2 separate regions of the Homo sapiens genome follow, and region 2 is linked to region 1. Evidence: promoter capture Hi-C in human tissues and cell types (Jung and others, 2019). All regions are on one chromosome and are shown on one strand. Each heading gives the region's core, a stretch centred on a gene start or on the middle of the fragment in contact. The rest is flanking DNA. Distances are from core to core; before and after follow the strand shown.

Region 1 (6,581 bases), core at 1,198-3,697:
GCTATATATAGGTAACTTTACTAATAGGAATATTCAATTATTTCCATCTGCGTAGGACTTCCTAGTTTGCAAGGTATCTTTCCATATGACCTCATTTGAACTCATAACAGCTCTGAAAAGAAGACAGGATAGATTTCATTACAACTCTATAGATAAGGACATCTGACCAGGTCCCAATTTCAATGAGAGTCAGAAGCAGGAGTAGAACTTTGGCTTTCTTATTTCGAGTATCAGGAAAGAATTCAAGAAAGAACTGTGCATAAAGTAGGCTTAGCTATGCAGCAGAAAAGACAATCCCAATATCTCAATGGCTTAAAATAACAGGCGTTTGTTTCCTGCTCTCGTAAGTCCAATGCAGGTGGATTGACTTTCCAAGGCAACTGCCCTTCATACATCAACTGAGTGATACATCTCTTCCCTCTTGTAGTTGCCCTTTGCTCCTTGGTTGCACACAGGGGAAACAGTCTTGCAATGAAAATAAAACGCTTTGACCTAGGAATGATATGCATCCTTCTCGTCATAGCTCACAGGCCAGAACTAGTCACGTGGCCCTGCCTGATTGCAAAGGGAAATGGTATTTGTAAGTTTCCTGTGTGCCCAAGGCATGGATGAGCACTAAAACTCTCTCCTATATTGAATAAATTGGATTTGAAGGAGTAGGAAAAGGCCCCTTGAGGGCACTTATGAAAACAATGTAAAGAAACATACACAGAACACCTAATCTTTTTGAAAGCCTGGTGCTGGAGTCTCTCACAATAGATTTTTATTATTTTATACTGACAAAAGCCTGGTAAGGTAGACATTATCCCCTTTTTTATAGTTTTTGGTCATTGTAGTTCATGGAGGTTATGTAACCTGCCCCAGAGCTCACACTAAGAAGTGGAGGGAACTCTGATTCTCTTGCTCTTCCTTTTCTCCAGCTCTCAATTTCATATAATGATCTTTTCTTCCATCCCATAAGAGATTTAATTTTTAAGAGGAGCTTCTAGGGAGGGATACACAAAGGCTGGCAATGTTTTATTTTTTAAAGCTGGGTGGTGAGCACACAGATGTTTGTGCTCTTTTTATGTCTTAAGTGTTTCAAAATACAATCTTTTAAAAGGGGGTTGACAGAACCTGAGAACCAGTGATAAATTCTTCTTAAAAAGAGAAGCATTTTTAATGAATATTGGCAGCCAGAAAGTAGGACATATAGTATTGGTAACATTTATTGAGCCCATACTATGTCCTAGTTTTGGGTTTATTTGTTTGTTCGTTTGTTCCTTGAGACAGGGTCTCACTCTGTCACCCAGGCTGGAATGCAGTGGTGCAATCATGGCTTACTGTAGCCTTGACTGCCAGGGCTCAAGCCATCCTCCCACCTCAGCCTCCAGAGTAGCCGAGACTACAGATATGCACCACCACACCCAGGTAATTTTTAAATTTTGTGTAAAGATGGGGTCTCACTATGTTGCCCAGGCTGGTCTCAAATTCCTGGCCTCAAGTGATCCTCCTGCCTTAGCCTCCCAAAGTACTGGGATTATAGGCATGAGCCTATTTGTGCCTGGCCAGATAGTTTTAAATAATTTCTTTACATATTTTATCTCATCCTTCCAACAACCCTGTGAGGTAGATACTATTATTATCCCCATGTTAATACGAGATGAGAAAACTGAAACAAGTACAGATTAAGTATTTTACCTGAATCACACATTTATTGTAGGAAAAACCGGATTGGAACCAAGCATTCTGGCTTCAGGATACATACGCATGACTACTATCCTGGAAAACCTCCCCTAAGAGGTGGACGATGAACCAAATATGCAGAGGTGGATGAAACTCTTTTGTGCTTCTCCAGCAAAACGCGTGGTACATTCTCTAGACGTTTATGACCAGTTAAACAGGGAATTTAAAATAGTTTTCCCATGACAGAGAAAGACAAAGCGCTGGTGTTCTTGGCAGGAAATTCAAAGAAATATTTAAGGCAAGGGCTGACTCCCTTGGACCGGATGAAGGGGAAGAGCAGGTAATAATAGAGGGTTCTATGGATCGCAGAAACTTCCTGGGCAAGGAGGGTGGAGCTGGGGAGGGGTTTAAGAATTCCTGAAGGTCAAGCGATCTAGCCCAGCTGGGGTTTTCTCCTGCTTGGAGAGGGGTGCTATAAAAGCGCAGTTTGGGATTACTACTGTCGCCACTGCTCACCAAATTAAGTTATTCCGGGAGGGATCTTCTCGTCGCCATCCTCATTCCAACACACACCCATTGACACACTCGGGTTCGGCTGTGCGGTGCAACGAATTCCCAGGTGGGACACCCGAGCAGGAAGAAAGCCAGGCTGCGGGGCTGGGGGCGCCGCCCGGCCCGCGCCACAGTCCGCCTGGAGGATCACCGCCAGGGGGCACTCTCTCCGAACTCGGCCGCTCTGTCTCCTCCCCGGCGCGCTCCCTGCCCCTCGCTCCCCGCAGCCAGCAGAGAAGGCGGAAGCAGTGGCGTCCGCAGCTGGGGCTTGGCCTGCGGGCGGCCAGCGAAGGTGGCGAAGGCTCCCACTGGATCCAGAGTTTGCCGTCCAAGCAGCCTCGTCTCGGCGCGCAGTGTCTGTGTCCGTCCTCTACCAGCGCCTTGGCTGAGCGGAGTCGTGCGGTTGGTGGGGGAGCCCTGCCCTCCTGGTTCGGCCTCCCCGCGCACTAGAACGGTGAGTCTCCTTCAGGCGCCTCCTCCTGGCGGCCGCCGCCTCGCTTCCCAGCGGTCAGGGACGCCGCCCCCCGCCCCTTCGCTCTCGGCAGGTCGGGGACGCAGTCCCTGTCCCCTCGCTTCCCACCAGTCGGGGACGCCTCCCCTGTCCCTTCGCTTTTCACAGGTCAGGGACGCCGCCCCTACCCGCTTGCTTCCCACGGGTCGGGGACGCCGCCCCTGTCCTCTCGCTTCCCGCTGGTCGAGGACACCGTTCCCTGCCCCTCGCTTCCTGCAGGTCGGGACGCAGCCTCTGTCCCCACGCTTCCCACAGGTCGGGGACACCGTTCCCTGTCCCCTGACCTCTGCTCCCCAGGCCTCCTCTTCCTCGCTCATTCCACCCCCTAAAAAACCCCGCGTCGCCTTACTCAACCTCGCTCCCCTCAACTCCGCTTTTTCCCCTTCCCAGATAAGGAAATTGCCTCCTGCAGTTGTCCGCTCCTTGGAGCAAACACCTGCTTAAATTTTTAAAAAATCCTTTACGTTCCTGGCGACTCCGGCTGTCACTGTCATGGGAAAGCTATTTTTGGATTCCCTGTTGAACTCTATAGAAGTCTCAGGCAGCGAGTTTAAAAAAAAAAAAAGGCTCAGATGACACGAATGTTTTCTCCCCCGCCCCTAAACTCGGTAGTTCGAGCGATTGTTCCAGACGCCGGGTTGATAAAGCTGTTCCTAGTATTTGGCTTAAGGGGAACTCCAGCTGAGTTAGGACTGTCTTGAATGTGAACAGAAAGCACCTAAATAAAGTATTAGCAGCTTCGCTGTATGGTATTTAATTGTTTCTTTCTCTGAGAGCAGATTACTATTACTGAATGTCTTGTTACACAGGTTCCATGTAGAAACGAGAAAAACTGGTAAAGAAATTCTGTGTTGGCCTTGTGAACTTGGCCGCTATCATTTCATTCATTCTCCTTTGATTACTAGGGAAGGGAGAGGGGCTTTTCAAATTTTGAGGTTGAGTGTATAGGCAGGAACAATGTGGCCTCTTTTGTGACTCTAGGAAGGAGTCCGGCATGTGGTGGGTACAGGATCACATCAGAGTTTCAGCCTGCATGCACCACAATATTTCAGAATTGTAACATGAGCTCTTCTCTGTGATAAATTTGGGCATGTGATGCCGGTAAACTTTTGGACACTTAGATTTGGAGAGAAGTTCAAATCCTTGCCTCCTGGAGCAGAGTAAATAGTGCCCAGGAAGGGGAATGCCCCTTGAATTTGGATTCAAAGTTAAGGCACAACAGTTGAGTATTTTGCAGCATCTCTTGGCCATTGGAGTACATTTGTAGGTCTTCACACTTTAGAAATTTAAGAAGCTGGTAAACAGTTTCTGTTTCTAAAGCTAGTAGCACATTAAAGATAATTTCTCATATTTTCTTTACATGGTTTTACTTCAATAAGTTACATGTTTACTCGTATGAATTTCAGTTGACTTAAAATTGACTCATTTAAGACATAACTTGTTGACTTCTTTTAACTTGGCACATACCTCCTTAGCATCTGCCTTGGAGGACAAACTTTTTGTGGATTATCCTACTTCCCCCTCCCCCAAGACATGTTACAGTATTCTCTTTTGATTATAATGTACACCCAGATACTAATTCGTGAATTTAAGTCTTGATTTATGACAAGGCTGCTTTCAATACTACTCATTTTACGGCTGAAATAAGTTAGCAGTAGTTAACGTTCCACAATCTTTAAGGTAGTGCTTATCATACTAGATTTCGCAACTGCAAAAGGGGATTACAGTCAGGACACTCTTAACATACAAGTTAAGGAACAATTTATACTTTGTTCCATCCCTTCATTAATTCCTGTAGAAAGCCACGTAAGTATACTAGAATAGAGGCTGTAAGAAATTTTTATTTTAGGCCTGGCATAATGGCTCATGCCTGTAATCCCAGCACTTCGGGAGGCTGAGGTGGGAGGATAGCTTGAGACCAGCCTGGGCAATATGGCAAAATCCTGTCTCTACAAAAAAATACAAAAATTAACCAGGCTTGGTGGCACACACCTGTAGTCCCAGCTACTTGGGAGACTGAGGTGGGAGGATCACTTGAGCCCAAGAGGTGGAGGCTGCAATGAGCCATGATCGTGCCACTGCACTCCAGCCTGGGCAATAGAGCAGGACCCTGACAAAAAAAAAAGTGTGTGTATATATATGTATATATATACACATATATAAAATACATGTATATATGTGTATATATACACATATATAATATATACATATATTTGTATATGTTTATATGTATAATACATGTATGTATGTGTATATATACATATATACACGCGCGTGTATGTATACATATATACACGCTCGTGTATGTATACATATATACACGCGCGTGTGTATGTATACATATATACACGCGCGTGTATGTATACATATATACACGCGCGTGTATGTATACATATATACACGCGCGTGTATGTATACATATACATGTATATATACGTGTATACACGTATATATACATATATACATGTATATATGCATGTATACACGTATATATACATATATACATTTATGTATGTATAATACATGTATATATATATACATTTATGTATGTATAATACATGTATATATACATATATACATTTATGTATGTATAATACATGTATATATACATATATACATTTATGTATGTATAATACATGTATATATACATATATACATTTATGTATGTATAATACATGTATATATACATATATACATTTATGTATGTATAATACATGTATATATACATATATACATTTATGTATGTATAATACATGTATATATACATATATACATTTATGTATGTATAATACATGTATATATACATATATACATTTATGTATGTATAATACATGTATATATACATATATACATTTATGTATGTATAATACATGTATATATACATATATACACGTATATACATTTATGTGTATATACGTATATATACAAAGCACTTTTTGTTCTTCTCTTAGTGTTAGTTATCGTTATAATTAAGTTAGGTGATTTTTCCTTAAGTCATTGCAGTTCTTAAAACTAAAGGGACAAAATGTTTTACCAAAGAAAGAGGAAACAAAAATGCTAAGTGGCAGTCAAGAATTGTTTTTAACTTAATTTTCCCTTTATGTCTAGTTACATGAAACTAAATACTGTGGACTTAAAGGATAACTATATGAAAAAGTTTATTTGGAAAATAGAAAGCTTCTGGATTGCATCTTAAAGCGTGGAAAGTAATGTGAAACTTGAAGGCAAATAGATTTTGAACATGCTCACTTTTATGTGTCACACTGCATTCCCACAGTGGAGTTCCTTTTAAGGAATTATAACTGATTAGACAGATTTTCTTAGGAACACATTAGCTATAAAAGGTCTCTTCAGACCTAAAGACCTTCAAGCCTTTTGAACTGGACTGGAAGCAGGCAGTGTATAGACTATCCAATAAACTATATTTTAAACTGGACATTTGGGCAGAAAAGAAAAGATACACCTAGCTTCATAATTTCTGCCTTTGTCTTGTGGCCAGCACTTGGATATATGTCCTACACCAAATAACAAATACTAATTTCTCAAAAGTGATTTTACTTAAAAAAAAAATGGTTCAAGACTGAAATATACCTGATGTTGTCAAGCGTAGAGAAAATGGACTCTTGCATATATACTGTGCTTGTGTGAGTGGAAATTAGAATGTCTTTGATACATATTAGATAACCAGCATTATCTATCAGAAAGCTTAAAAAGTTACATACCCTCTGATCCAACAATTCTACCTCTAGGAAATTTACCTAAGGAAGTAATTGGACACAGAAATGTACAGATATACCTCATTTTATAGCACTGGTTTTTTGCACTTCCCGGATACTTTTTTGTTTTTTTTTTT
Region 2 (6,581 bases), core at 2,831-5,330, 35 kb before region 1:
TTCACTCTGATGATAGTTTCTTTTGCTGTGCAGAAGCTCTCTAGTTTAATTAGATCCCATTTGTCAATTTTGGCTTTTGTTGCCATTGCTTTTGGTGTTTTAGTCATGAAGTCTTTGCCCATGCCTATATCCTGAATGGTATTGCCTAGGTTTTCTTCTAGGGTTTTTATGGTTTTAGGTCTTACATTTAAGCCTTTAATCCATCTTGAGTTAATTTTTGTATAAGGTGTAAGGAAGGGGTCCAGTTTCAGTTTTCTGCATATGGCTAGCCAGTTTTTCTGACATCATTTATTAAATAGGGAATCCTTTCCCCATTGCTTGTTTTTGTCAGGTTTGTCAAAGATCAGATGGTTGCAGATCTGTGGCGTTATTTCTAATGCTTCCGTTTGGTTCCATGGGTCTATATACCTGTTTTGGTACCAGTACCATGCTGTTTTGGTTCCTGTAGCCTTGTAGTATAGTTTGAAGTCAGGTAGGGTGATGCCTCCAGCTTTGTTCTTTTTGCTTAGAATTGTCTTGACCATATGGGCTCTTTTTTGGTTCCATATGAAATTTAAAGTAGTTTTTTCCAATTCTGTGAAGAAAGTCATTGGTAGCTTGATGGGGATAGCATTGAATCTATAAATTATTTTGGGCTGTATGGCCATTTTCACAATATTGATTCTTCCTATCCATGAGCATGGAATGTTTTGCCATTTGTTTGTGTCCTCTTTTATTTCCTTGAGCAGTGGTTTGTAGTTCTCCTTGAAGAGGTCCTTCACATCTCTTGTAAGTTGGATTCCTAGGTATTTTATTTTTTTTGTAGCAATTGTGAATGGGAGTTCACTCATGATTTGGCTCTCTGTTTGTCTATTATTGCTGTATAGGAATGCTTGTGATTTTTGCACATTGATTTTTGTATCCCGAGACTTTGCTGAAGTTGCTTATCAGCTTAAGGAGATTTGGGCTGAGACGGAGTTTTCTAAATGTACAATCATGTCATCTGCAAACAGAGACAATTTGACTTCCTCTCTTCCCATCTGAATACGCTTTATTTCTTTCTCTTGCCTGATTGCCTTGGCCAGAACTTCCAATACTATGTTGAATAGGAGTGGTGAGGGAGGGCATCCTTGTCTTGTGCCAGTTTTCAAAGGAAATGCTTCTAGCTTTTGTCCATTCAGTATGATATTGGCTCTGAGTTTGTCATAAATAGCTCTTATTACTTTGAGATACATTCCATCAATACCTAGTTTATTGAGAGTTTTTAGCATGAAGGGGTGTTGAATTTTATGAAGGCCTTTTCTGCATCTATTGATATAATCATGTAGTTTTTGTCGTTGGTTCTGTTTATGTGAGGGATTACGTTTATTGATTTGCGTATGTTGAACCAGCATTGCATCCCAGGGATGAAGCTGACTTGATCATGGTGAATAAGCTTTTTGATGTGCTGCTGTATTAGGTTTGCCAGTATTTTACTGAGGATTTTCACATCGATGTTCATCAGGGGTATTGGCCTGAAATTTTCTTTTTTTGTTGAGTCTCTGTCAGGTTTTGGTATCAGAATGATGCTAGCCTCATAAAATGAGTTAGGGGGGATTCCCTCTTTTTCTATTGTTTGGAATAGTTTCAGAAGGAATGACACCAGCTCCTCTTTGTACCTCTGGTAGAATTTGGCTGTGAATCCATCTGGTCCTGGACTTTTTTTGGTTGGTAGGCTATAAATTACTGCCTCAATTTCAGAATTTGTTATTGGTCTACTCAGGGATTTGGCTTCTTCCTGGTTTAGTCTTGGGAGGGTATATGTGTCCATGAATTTATCCATTTCTTCTAGATTTTCTAGTTTATTTGCATAGAGGTGTTTATAGTATTCTCTGATGGTAGTTGTATTTCTGTGGGATCAGTGGTGATATCCACTTTATCATTTTTTATTGTGTCTATTTGATTCTTCTCTCTTTCCTTCTTTATTAGTCTGGCTAGCAGTCTATCCATTTTGTTGATCTTTTCAAAAAACCAGCTTCTGGATTCATTGATTTTTTAGAGTTTGTGTGTCTCTATCTCCATCAGTTCTGCTCTGATCTTAGTTATTTCTTGTCTTCTGCTAACTTTTGAATTTGTTTGTTCTTGCTTCTCTAGTTCTTTTTATTATGATGCTAGGGTGTCGATTTTAGATCTTCCCCACTTTCTCCTGTGGGCATTTAGTGTTATAAATTTCTCTCTAAACACTGCTTTAGCTCCAACCTAGCATGACAGGCCAACATTCAAATTCAGGAACTACAGAGAACACCACAAAGATACCCCTTGAGAAGAGCGACCCCAAGACACATAATTGTCAGATTCACCAAGGTTGAAATGAAGGAAAAAATGTTAAGGGCAGCCAGAGATAGAGGTCGGATTACCCACAAAAGGGAAGGCCATCAGACTAAGAGCGGATGTCTCCACAGAAACCCTGCAAGCCCGAAGAAAATTCTTTTCTTCATTCTTAAAGAAAAGAATTTTCAAATCGGCCAAACTAAGCTTCATACGTGAAAGAGAAATAAAATCCTTTACAGTCAAGCAAATGCTGAGAGATTTTGTCACCACCAGGCCTGCCTTACAAGAGCTCCTGAAGGAAGCACTAAATATGGAAAGGAAAAACCAGTACCAGCCACTGCAAAAACATACCAAATTGTAAAGTCCATTGACACTATGAAGAAACTGCATCAACAAATGGGCAAAATAACCAGCTAGCATCAAAATGACAGGATCAAATTCACACATAACAATATTAACCTTAAATATAAACAGGCTAAATGCCCCCAATTAAAAGACAGACTGGCAAATTGGATAAAGAGTAAACACCCATCGATGTGGCATATTCAGGAGACCCATCTCATGTGCAAAGACACACATAGACTCAAAATAAAGGGATGGAGGAAGATTTACCAAGCAAATGGAAAGCAAAAAGAAAGCAGGGGTTGCAATCCTAGTCTCTAATAAAACAGACTTTAAACCGACAAAGATCAAAAAATACAAAGAAGAGCATTACATTATGGTAAGGGGATCAGTGCAACAAGAAGAGCTAACTATCCTAAATATATATGCAGTCAATACAGGAGCACCCAGATTCATAAGCAAGTTCTTAGATACCTACAAAGAGGCTTAGAATCCCACACAATAATAGTGGGAGACTTTAACACCCCACTGTCAATATTATATCAACAAGACAGAAAATTAACAAGGATATTCCCGATTTGAACTCAGCTCTGGACCAAGTGGACCTAATAGACATCTACAGAACTCTCCACCCCAAATCAACAGACTATACATTCTTCTTAGCACCTATTCTAAAATTGACCACATAATTGGTAGTAAAACAGTCCTCAGCAAATGCAAAAGAATGGAAATCACAACAAACAGTCTCTGAGACCACAGTGCAATCAAATTAGAACTCAGGATTAAGAAACTCATTCAAAACTGCACGACTACACGGAAACTGAACAACCTGCATCTGAATGACTGCTGGATAAGTAATGAAATTAAGACATAAGTTCTTTGAAACCAATGAGAACAAAGACACAACGTACCAGAATCTCTAAGACACAGCTTAAACTTTATTTTTTTAAGTTTATAATGTTAATTGCATCATGGTTTGTTATAATCTGTTGAAAATGGCCTAAATGTCTGCCAATAGAAGAACAGAAGCTGGAAAAAGTACAAAGTGATCCAACTTGTATGGACAGCAATTTGGCAATAATTGTCAAAATTACATATTCACTGTTTGTCTTCTAGGGCTTTTGTGACAAAATATCACAGTCTGGGTGGCCTAAATAACAGAAATTTATTTTCTCACAGTTCTGGAGGTCACAGTGTCAGGAGAATTGGTTTCTGGTGAGACCTCTCTCCTTGGCTTGCTGATGACCATCTTGCTGTGCCCTCATATGGTCTTTTCTCTATGACTCACTTTCTTGGTGTCTCTTTCTCTTCTTACAAATGTGACACCAGTCACATTGAATTCAAGCCCACCCTTATAACCTCCCTTAATCTTAACTCCCTCTTCATATATCCTATCTTTAAACACAGACAGATTGGAGGTTAAAGCTTTAACATGTGAATTTTGGGGGGACACAATTCAGCCCATGCACTCACTGTTTGATCTACAAATTCCACATCTATTTAATTTATCCCAAGAATATTCAGATATACTTTAATGCAAAAAAAGATATGTGTAAAAAATTATTTATTGAAGTTCTGTTTGTAATAATAAAATACTGAGAACAGCTAAAGTTGTCACTGGATAAATAAATTCTAATCTATCTTTTCAACGGAATGTAATGCAACCATTGTATTAGTCCATTCTCACGCTGCTATAAAGAACTACCTGAGACTGGGTAATTTACAAAGAGAAGAGGTTTAATTGACTCACAGTTCCACACGGCTGAAGAGGCCTCAGGAAACTTACAATCATGGCAGAAGGCAAAGGGGAAGCATGGTTGCAGAAAAGAGAGAACGAGGGGGGATCCGCCACACACTTTTAAACCATCAGATCTCATGAGAACTCCTTCACAATCATGAGAACAGAATGGGGGAAGCCCCGCCATGATCCAATCACCTCCCACAGGGTCCCTCCCTCGACACATGAGGATTACAATTCTAGACGAGATTTGGGTGAGGACATGTAGCCAGACCACATCAACCATTAAAAAGAAAAAGAAAACTACTTAAATGCAACGGTCTTCAAGAGTTATTGTTAGTGGGAAAAAGCAGGATACAGAACAATGTACATGACATCATTTGGGTGAAAAGAGAGGGAAAATATAGAAACATATATTTTGCTTATATATGCATCAGATATCTCTGGAAAGATGCACAAGGACCTGTTAACACTGGCTGTCTTCAGAAAGGGGAACTAGACTAGAGAGAAATTCTTAGATTCCTCTGGTACCATTTCAATTTTGAAAGGTTCTAGGGTGGAATTCGTTCCTTATCTCCAGCCCCTAGAGCTGCTTTCTTTGTGTTCTATCAGAGTGGCTACACCACTCCAATCTCTGCCTCAGTAGTCTCCTTGTCGACCCTTCTATGTTAATAATCCCCCTTCTTCTCTGATAAGAACACTTAGGATTGTATTTGGGGTCCATCTGGATGATGCAGGACAACCTCCTTAACTTAAAATCTTTAACTTGATCACATCTGCCATCTCTGCCACGTTTATAGGTCCCAGGGATTAAGCCCTGATATCTCTGAGGGCCATTATTCAGCCAATTGTACCTACCCTAAAAAAGTGGCTAAAGGAAGTTTACTGGTTCATGAATTGTGGAAAATGTTCCATATGTATATAATTTGTTAATAAAGGAAACCAGGTAGGGCTATGAGAGAATTCTCTGTACTATCTTCTCAATTTCTCTGTATCTTTGAAACTCTTTTTTAATGTCTATTAAATTGGAAAACATCAAACATGCAACTACCATAAAACCAAGGAATTGCGCTTCTGGCCATTTATCCCAGAGAAATGAATACTATGTCCACATAAAAACTTGTCCACAAATCTTTATAGCATCTTCTAATTAGTCTGTTGACACTCATTACACAGAAAAGAAGTTCCCCCCAAAAAGGTTGATTTGCCTTAACCTAAGCCTTCTGAATTTAGTGTATTCCATAAATAATAAATCTGGACTAAGAGGTAAGTCATTTTATTCCCGCATGTTATCAATATTTCTTGAGCTAGAGAAGGAGGTTAGAAGGAGAGATGGAAGAGAGAGGCCAAACAAGAGAGAGGCTGGTAAGTGCCTCCAAGAAGGGCCCCTGTGCCCAAGCTGCACTTCTAACTCAGTCAAGAGCAGGGTAAGTGCCACAACAGAACCACCTCCCAATAAGCTTTGGGATCTGAGGGCGGGGAGGGTCTGATTTTTCGGGTAGAGCCTGGAAAAGTGAGCAAACCCCACAGTTCTGCTATGGCATGCCGGCATGTGGCCTGGCAGCAGCAGAGGCAGTAAAGCCGTGTGGGGTACAGGGCATCAGAGGGATGAGGCAAGCATACCGTGGGTTCTCTGATGCTGGACTGGTGAAAAGGACACAGAAGTAGTTGAGAGGCAACCTCACACTTCCAAAGAGAAGGAGGAGGCAGAGGTACAGTCAGATGACCAGGGTGATGTCCACAGAGACTGGGGTCTAATCAAGGCTATACCTAAGACCCTGAGAGGGTCAGCCAGCATCTGAGACCCTGAGAGGATGTTAGCCAGTTCCCTATCTGCCATCCCTGAGCCATAATGTCAGAAATGTAGGAGTCACCAAGGAAGAAGGAGATGGGGGAAGAAGATTCAGTAGTGACTCGTTCAAATCTGAAGTGACAGAGAAAACGAGGCACTGATTAGATTAATTTTTCCTGCCTTTGAGTTGATGGGGATTCCTAATGGAGTTTCAGCTGGCTTAGGAAAATAAAGAAATGGACTTATTTGCACAACTGAGATCTGTAAATATTTTGCATGTGAATTTTATATATAAGGTTTTTTTCTATTTTTTTTACACTGGAGGTATATAACATATAGAGCAATAATTATGTGATTGATTAAAAGGAAAAAATTCAAAACATGGTTTATCGCCCCAAGCTCAACAACCATTGACACCAA

The links. The method cuts DNA at HindIII sites, captures the fragments that hold promoters and counts their contacts. A contact is called where the count stands out against the background at its distance.
Region 2: a fragment that was not itself captured here is called in contact with the fragment with the promoter of TRAF6 in region 1 in 1 of the 25 tissues and cell types used here (H1 embryonic stem cells).

The regions. Positions count from the first base shown.
Region 1 is chr11:36,506,138-36,512,718 of GRCh38, reverse strand. TRAF6 (TNF receptor associated factor 6) reads left to right here and starts at 2,447. Exons shown (of 7, transcript NM_004620.4): 1 at 2,447-2,671. It also overlaps a transcript of RAG1 not described here. RefSeq lists an enhancer at 2,579-2,628. The HindIII fragment of the contact is 11,968 bases long and covers 1-6,169 here.
Region 2 is chr11:36,542,750-36,549,330 of GRCh38, reverse strand. It overlaps a transcript of RAG1 not described here. Among named protein-coding and RNA genes, the nearest start is that of RAG1, 22 kb to the left of the region's middle. The HindIII fragment of the contact is 4,252 bases long and covers 1,955-6,206 here.